Linked DNA regions of Homo sapiens: region 2 is linked to region 1. Evidence: promoter capture Hi-C in 16 types of primary human blood cells and fetal thymus (Javierre and others, 2016). All regions are on one chromosome and are shown on one strand. Each heading gives the region's core, a stretch centred on a gene start or on the middle of the fragment in contact. The rest is flanking DNA. Distances are from core to core; before and after follow the strand shown.

Evidence for each region. Contacts are between HindIII fragments. The CHiCAGO score rates a contact against its expected background, and 5 or more counts as called.
Region 2: a contact is called between the fragment with the promoter of ZNF789 here and the fragment with the promoter of BAZ1B in region 1, in 1 of 17 cell types (total B cells). The highest score is 5.2, in total B cells.

What each region holds. Positions count from the first base shown.
Region 1 is chr7:73,520,836-73,523,961 of GRCh38, forward strand. It overlaps BAZ1B (bromodomain adjacent to zinc finger domain 1B), which reads right to left and starts at 1,458. Exons shown (of 20, transcript NM_032408.4): 1 at 992-1,458. The coding sequence starts at 1,098. RefSeq lists silencers at 702-1,581, 1,932-2,071 and an enhancer at 1,642-1,801. The HindIII fragment of the contact is 2,091 bases long and covers 29-2,119 here.
Region 2 is chr7:99,471,258-99,474,383 of GRCh38, forward strand. It overlaps ZNF789 (zinc finger protein 789), which reads left to right and starts at 1,633. Exons shown (of 5, transcript NM_213603.3): 1 at 1,633-1,799. RefSeq lists enhancers at 873-1,032, 1,253-1,342, 1,633-1,922. The HindIII fragment of the contact is 10,687 bases long and covers 1-2,317 here.

The DNA.
Region 1 (3,126 bases), core at 208-2,707:
CTCATAACACATTAGCCTTCACTCTTAAAGCTTTCAGTCACCAAAGAAATGCTTGATTCCGAAATCGTTTTTGTTTTTTTTACAGATAAGCCTCAAAAACGATTCTTCTGGCACCCATTAAAAAAAAGCAAATAAAAGCTGCACAACTTTTCACTAAAAGATAATGCTTATGCAAGAAATCTTAGTCATGACGAGAGGATGCTTCCTTTGTAAAACATCCAATTTCATGTTCCTAAAATACAACATAAAAACTTCACGTCTTGGTTTTTTTGTTTGTTTAATTTTAACAAATACCAATCTCCTTCTAAACCTTCAAAATTTCAAACCTGTGTCTGCCCAGGGAAGGCAGGCATCAGCTCCTCCACAGGCAGTTTCCTTCCCTCCCTTTCCTCTAAGCGGGGAATCTCATTCCTAGTTTTCTGCCCCAGGGTCCTGTCAGTTCATCCCCGGCCTAAAGTCCCCTCGGGAGACGAAAAAAACGCCAAGTATCCCCGCAGAGATCGGGGTAAGACGCAGTTGAGTCTTGCACACGCCGCATCACGAGGCCGCGCGAGTACAATTTCAAAACTTAAGCTGCAGGTTTCATTTAAATTTTTAAAAAATTTTTGTAAAAATTAAAGGAGAAAACCTAGCTCCCCCTCCCCACGCCTCCTCCTCCCTCTCGGGTCCTCAAGGCCTAAAGCCAACCCGGGGAAGGTAATGGGGATGGGGGATGCGCTCCTCGCCGGCGAGGCCCCGGGACAAAGTGCGGGGCCCCGGGGGCGGCCGAAGCGGGCCCTTCTCCTTCCAGGGCCGGTGCGCGCCCCCCGCCGGATCCCCTGGAAGGATCGGCGGGCGCAGGCTGAGACTCAGCCTCCAGGCCCGCGAGCGGCCGGGGCGCGCTGACAGCTGCCCCGGGCCGGGGATGCGCGGCTGACCTGGTCTCGCGAGCCCCAGGCCCTACCCCGGCCCAGCCCGGCCCAGCCCGGCCCGCGCGGCTGGAAAAGGATACTCCCGGGTGCGGAAGGCCTCCTGAGTGTGCGGGATGGTGAAGAGCGGCTCCTCTCCGGGCAACGGCTTCACCAGCGGGAAGGGCTTGCGGCCCAGGAGCGGCGCCATCGCGGCGGCGGCGGTGGGGACTGGCGGCTGCTGGGGCCGGCCCCGCGGCGCAGCACTAGGCCCCGCGGCCCGGAGCGAGCGCCAGGCGCCCGGGGGTGGGGTGGGGGAAGGGAGGGGTGAGAGGGCGGCGCGAACTCCGGCTCCCTCACCGCCGGCGCGGCCGCGCGACAGTCATGGAGCGGAACGCCACGGCGCAGAGCTCCCGCGCACACCGCCGCGCCTCCCAGCAGCCCCCCGCCGACCTCCGCTTCGGGTCCCGGCGGCCGGCAGTCACGACTCCTCCTCAGCAGCACCGGAGGAAATTATTGAAAAATGGCGGGAGATTCCCCTCCTCCCCCGGGCCCGGCCAACGCACACACTAACTTGCTCCCCCGTGGCGCCGGTGGCGAATGCTCCAATAGGCGGAGAGCTGGTCAGCGCTCACAGCCTATTGGCTCGGAGGAGCTGCCGCTCCGCGCCTGGGTCCCGCCCCCCTGCCCCTGTCGCGTAGTTGGGTTGCAGCGCACTAGAGGGCAGTCTGAAGAGGTGAAAGGTCACGTTATGTAAGCGCCCGTGATAGGCGTGCGGGCCTCCGACGGCAGAGTTAAAAGTGGGGGACAGCGGGGGATGGAGAGGACGAGAACTCAAAGAGGTCAAGCCGGAGAAGCCCCTCGCATATACAGATACTGCGCCATCTGTCACCGACGGCGACACCGACATCCGGGCACCACTGTCCGTGTGGTGCGCCGGAGGGGGAGGGTGAGCGCGCGGCCAGGGGCTTTGTCTTTCCTCTTGGGCGCCTCCCCCTTCTTAAAGGCGCCGTGCTCGGCCACGCCCGGGGATGCGCGGGTGGGGCTGGGCTGCAGGGAGGGGTTGGCGGGAAGTGGCCCCGGGAGCTTACCCTACCAAAGGTTCTGCGGAAGGACAACGTGGGGGCCAGCTTTGCTCACCCCAGAGTTAACTTCTGGGCGGGAGTGTGGTTGAGATCTGGGTAGAAGTATACTGCTTGTTTCTAGGGGCTGGCTGGAAAGTAGAATATAGAAGCTTCTTTGGAGAAATAGATTAAAAGACGTACTTAGTTTTTTGGTTTTTGGTTTTTGTTTTTTTTGAGACGGAGTCTCGCTCTGTCGCCCAGGCTGGAGGGCAATGGCGCGATATCGGCTCACCGCAACCTCCGCCTCCCGGGTTCAAGAGATTCTCCTGCCTCAGCCTCCCAAGTAGCTGGAATTACTGGCGTGCACCACCACGCCCGGCCAATTTTGTATTATTAGTAGAGACGGGGCTTCTCCATGTTGGTCAGGCTGGTCTCAAACTCCCGACTTCAGGTGATCCGACCGCCTAGGCCTCCCAAAATTATCATTATTTTTTTTTTTGAGACGGAGTTTCACTCTTGTTGCCCAGGCTGGAGTGCAGTGGTGCAGTCTCGGCTCACTGCAACCTCTCCCTCCCGGGTTCAAGCTATTCTCTTGCCTCGGCCTCCCGAGTAGCTGGGACTACAGGTGCGCGCCACCACACCCGGCTATTTTTTGTATTTTGTAGAGACGGGGTTTCACCATGTTGGTCAGGCTGGTCTCGGACTCCTGATCTCAGGTGATCCACCCGCCTCGGCCTCCCAAAGTGTTGGGATTACAGGCGTGAGCCACCACGCCCTGCCAGAGCTGTGACTCTGGCTTTTTTTTTTTTTCTCCCATGATACTCAGCACCTGGCTCGGAACATTGTAGGTGCTAGTGAATACTATTTGAATGAATTGGATCTACCTTTTATTTTTTATTTTTTTTGTAGAGACAGGGTCTTACTTTGTTGCCCAGACTGGTCTCGAACTCTTGGCCTCAAGCAATTGTCCCGCCTCTGCCTCCCAAAGTGCTGAGATTAGGCGTGACCCACTGTGCCCAGCCAGGATGTCTCTTTAATAGGTACGTCTGGGCCGGGCGCAGTGGCTCACCCCTGTAATCCCAGCACTTTGGGAGGCCGAGGCGGGCGGATCACGGGGTCAGGAGATGGAGACCATCCTGGCTAACACGGTGAAACCCCGTCTCTACTAAAAATAC
Region 2 (3,126 bases), core at 383-2,882, about 26 Mb after region 1:
AAATACACCATGGAATACTAAGCAGCCACAAAAAGGAATGAGATCCTGTCCTTTGCAGGGACATGGATGAAGCTGGTGGCCATCAGCCTCAGCAAACTAACACAGGAACAGAAAACCAAACACAGCATGTTCTCATTCATAAGTGGGAATTGAATATTGAGAACGCATGGACACAGAGAGGGGAACAACACACACCTGGGCCTTTTGGGGAGTCGGGGGTAAGGGGAGGGAACTTAGAGGATGGGTCAATAGGTGCAGCAAACCACCATGGCACATGTAACAAACCTGCACGTTCTGCACGTGTATCCTGTTTGTTTTGTTTTGTTTAGAAGAAATAAAAAACAAACAAAACTTGGGAGGCCAAGGCAGGCGGATCACTTGAGGTCAGGAGTTCGAGACCAGCCTGGCCAAAATGGTGAAACCCCGTCTCTACTAAAAACACACACACAAAAAAAATTAGCCGGGAGTGGTAGCGGGCGCCTGTAGTCCCAGCTACTCAGGAGGCTGACGCAGGAGAATGGCGTGAACCCGGGAGGCGGAGCTTGCAGTGAGCCGAGATCGCGCCACTGCACTCCAGCCTGGGCGAGAGCGAGACTGTCTCAAAAAAAAAAGAAAAAAAATTAACCCCTTACTCACATTAAAACTGTATTTTGGGGGTAATTTACATAAGCCACACAATTATCCTTTTAATTAAGATCTAATATTCTTTTTTTTTTTTTTGAGACAGAGTCTCGCTCTGTCGCCAGTCTGGAGTGCAGTGGTGGGATCTCGGCTCACTGCAAGCTCCGCCTCCCGAGTTCAAGTGATTCTCCTGCCTCAGCCTCCCGAGTAGCTGGCACTACAGGCACGCCGCCACCATGCCCAGCTAATTTTTTTTTTTTTTTTTTTTTTTTTGAGACGGAGTCTCGCTCTGTCACCCAGGCTGGAGTGCGGTGGCGCAATCTCGGCTCACCGCAACCTCCGCCTCCCGGGTTCAAGCGCTTCTCCTGCCTCAGCCTCCCGAGTAGCCGGGGTTACAGGCAGGCACCACCATGCCCGGCTAATTTTATTTGTATTTTTAGTAGAGACGGGTTTCTCCATTGTTGGTCAGGCTGGTATCGAACTCCCGACCTCAGGTGATCCACCCGCCTCGGCCTCCCAGAGTGCTGGGATTACAGGCGTGAGCCACCGCGCCCGGCAATTTTTTTGTATTTTTAGTAGAGAAGGGGTTTCACCATGTTGGCCAGGATGATCTAAATCTCTTGACCTGATCCGCCGGCCTCTGCCTCCCAAAGTGCTGGGATTACAGGCGTAAGCCACCGCGCCTGGCCCATTTTTCTTCTTTTATCTGATAACCTTACTCCCCTCCACAAACACACAGCCAAAGAAACGAATTGTGTCGCTCTTGAATCATAGAATAATTCTAAATTATGTTACGATTAAACAGGAGGGGCGGGGCCCTGTCCATCACGTGACTCTCTCGGTGCTGTCTCCGGCCGTTGATTGGCCTGGGCGGGGAGGGCGGCCGTTGATTGGTTCGGGCCCACTCGCGCGGGCGCCACTCTCTTTGTCTGACAAGAGAGTCGTGAAGCCTCCGCGGTCCTAGAGGGGCCGCTGGCTGGGACGCTTCGCTCGGCGCGCGCAGGTGGAGCCAGCGAGAGGCTCTGAGGCTGCCAGAGTGGTTGTGTCTGTTCCTCCGGTAAGGGGTGATTCGCCGAGGGGCGCGGACCAGACAGACCTCGGGTCAGGCCCGGGAACCCCGAGAGGAGAGCCCAGCCCCTGGTGGAGGCGGCTTGGCGGAGATTCGGAGCCGTCAGCAGGTTTGGGGAGAAGGAAACGAGTGTTGTGGGGGGCGTGGGTGCGGGGGGTAGGCCACTGCGCACACCCCCGGCTCGCAGGGGACGCTCCGGGTTTGTGCGGCGGCTCTCGGGGCCTGTGGCACCAGCTTTTGAGTATTTTTGGCGGTGTCAAGTCTTCGGCAGCGAGAGGAGCAAAGTCCGAAGAATGAATGGATGGTGAACGCCTGGACTTGGTTTTGTTAGAGTGGGAGATGAGCCGTGGTTGTTAGTGGAAGGTGTTCACGTGATTGTGAAGCGGCATTTTGGATTTTGTCAAAAGTTAACAGTCCCCTCCAGTTAAAGTTTTAAGAGTTTATTGTGCATGCAGAGGAACAGCTGGCAAATTGTTCCAATGGCAGCTTGGAAAGCTAAATGAGGAAGTGCAGTGATCTTGATTGTAATTGGCCATTATCAACTTGCATTCCTTCTAGGGTAAGTCGAGCTGGATCAGCCTCGCATCTGTAGCTGATTGGTTCAGTTTATCATGCGGACGAGAAAAAAGCTTCTTTCCTGGTCAGCGCACACTTTTCAGGGAAATAAGGAATTGTTGTTGCTGTTGTGTTTGAGACGAAGTGTTACTCTGTTGCCCAGTTTGGAGTACAATGGGCCAATCTCGACTCACTGCAACCTCCAACTCCCGGGTTCAAGCGATTCTCCTGCCTCAGCCTCTCGAGTAGCGGGGACTACAGGCACGCGCCACCATGCCCGGCTAATTTTTGTATTTTTAGTGGAGACTGGGTTTCACTATGTTGGCCAGGCTGGTCTTGAACTCCTGACCTCATGATCCGCCCGCCTCGGCCTCCCAAAGTGCTGGGATTTACAGGTGTGAGCCACCACGCCCGGCCTGTTGTTTTTAAGAGAGACAGGGTCTTGCTCTGTCACCCAGGGTGGAGTGTAGTGGTGCCATCATAGCTCATTGCAGTCTCCAACTCCTGAACTCAAGGGAGAAATCAATGTATTTTAAATGCCTTACATGGCTGTGGGTGGTTGGCCTAGGGCCGTACCCAAAACATGGACTCCATTTAATTTTTCATTAGCAAGTCTGACATTCAGATGCACAGCCTTCACAAACACATTCAGTAAATATAGTGCAGGGGTGTCCAATCTCTTGGCTTCCCTGGGCCACATTGGAAGAAGAATTGTCTTGGACTACACATAAAATACACAAACACTAAAAATAGCTCATGAGCTAAAAAAAAATCGCAAAACAATTTCATAAGGTTTTAAGAAAGTTTACGAGCCGGGCGCGGTGGCTCACGCCTGTAATCCCAGCACTTTGGGAGGCCAAGGCGGGAGGATCACGAGGTCA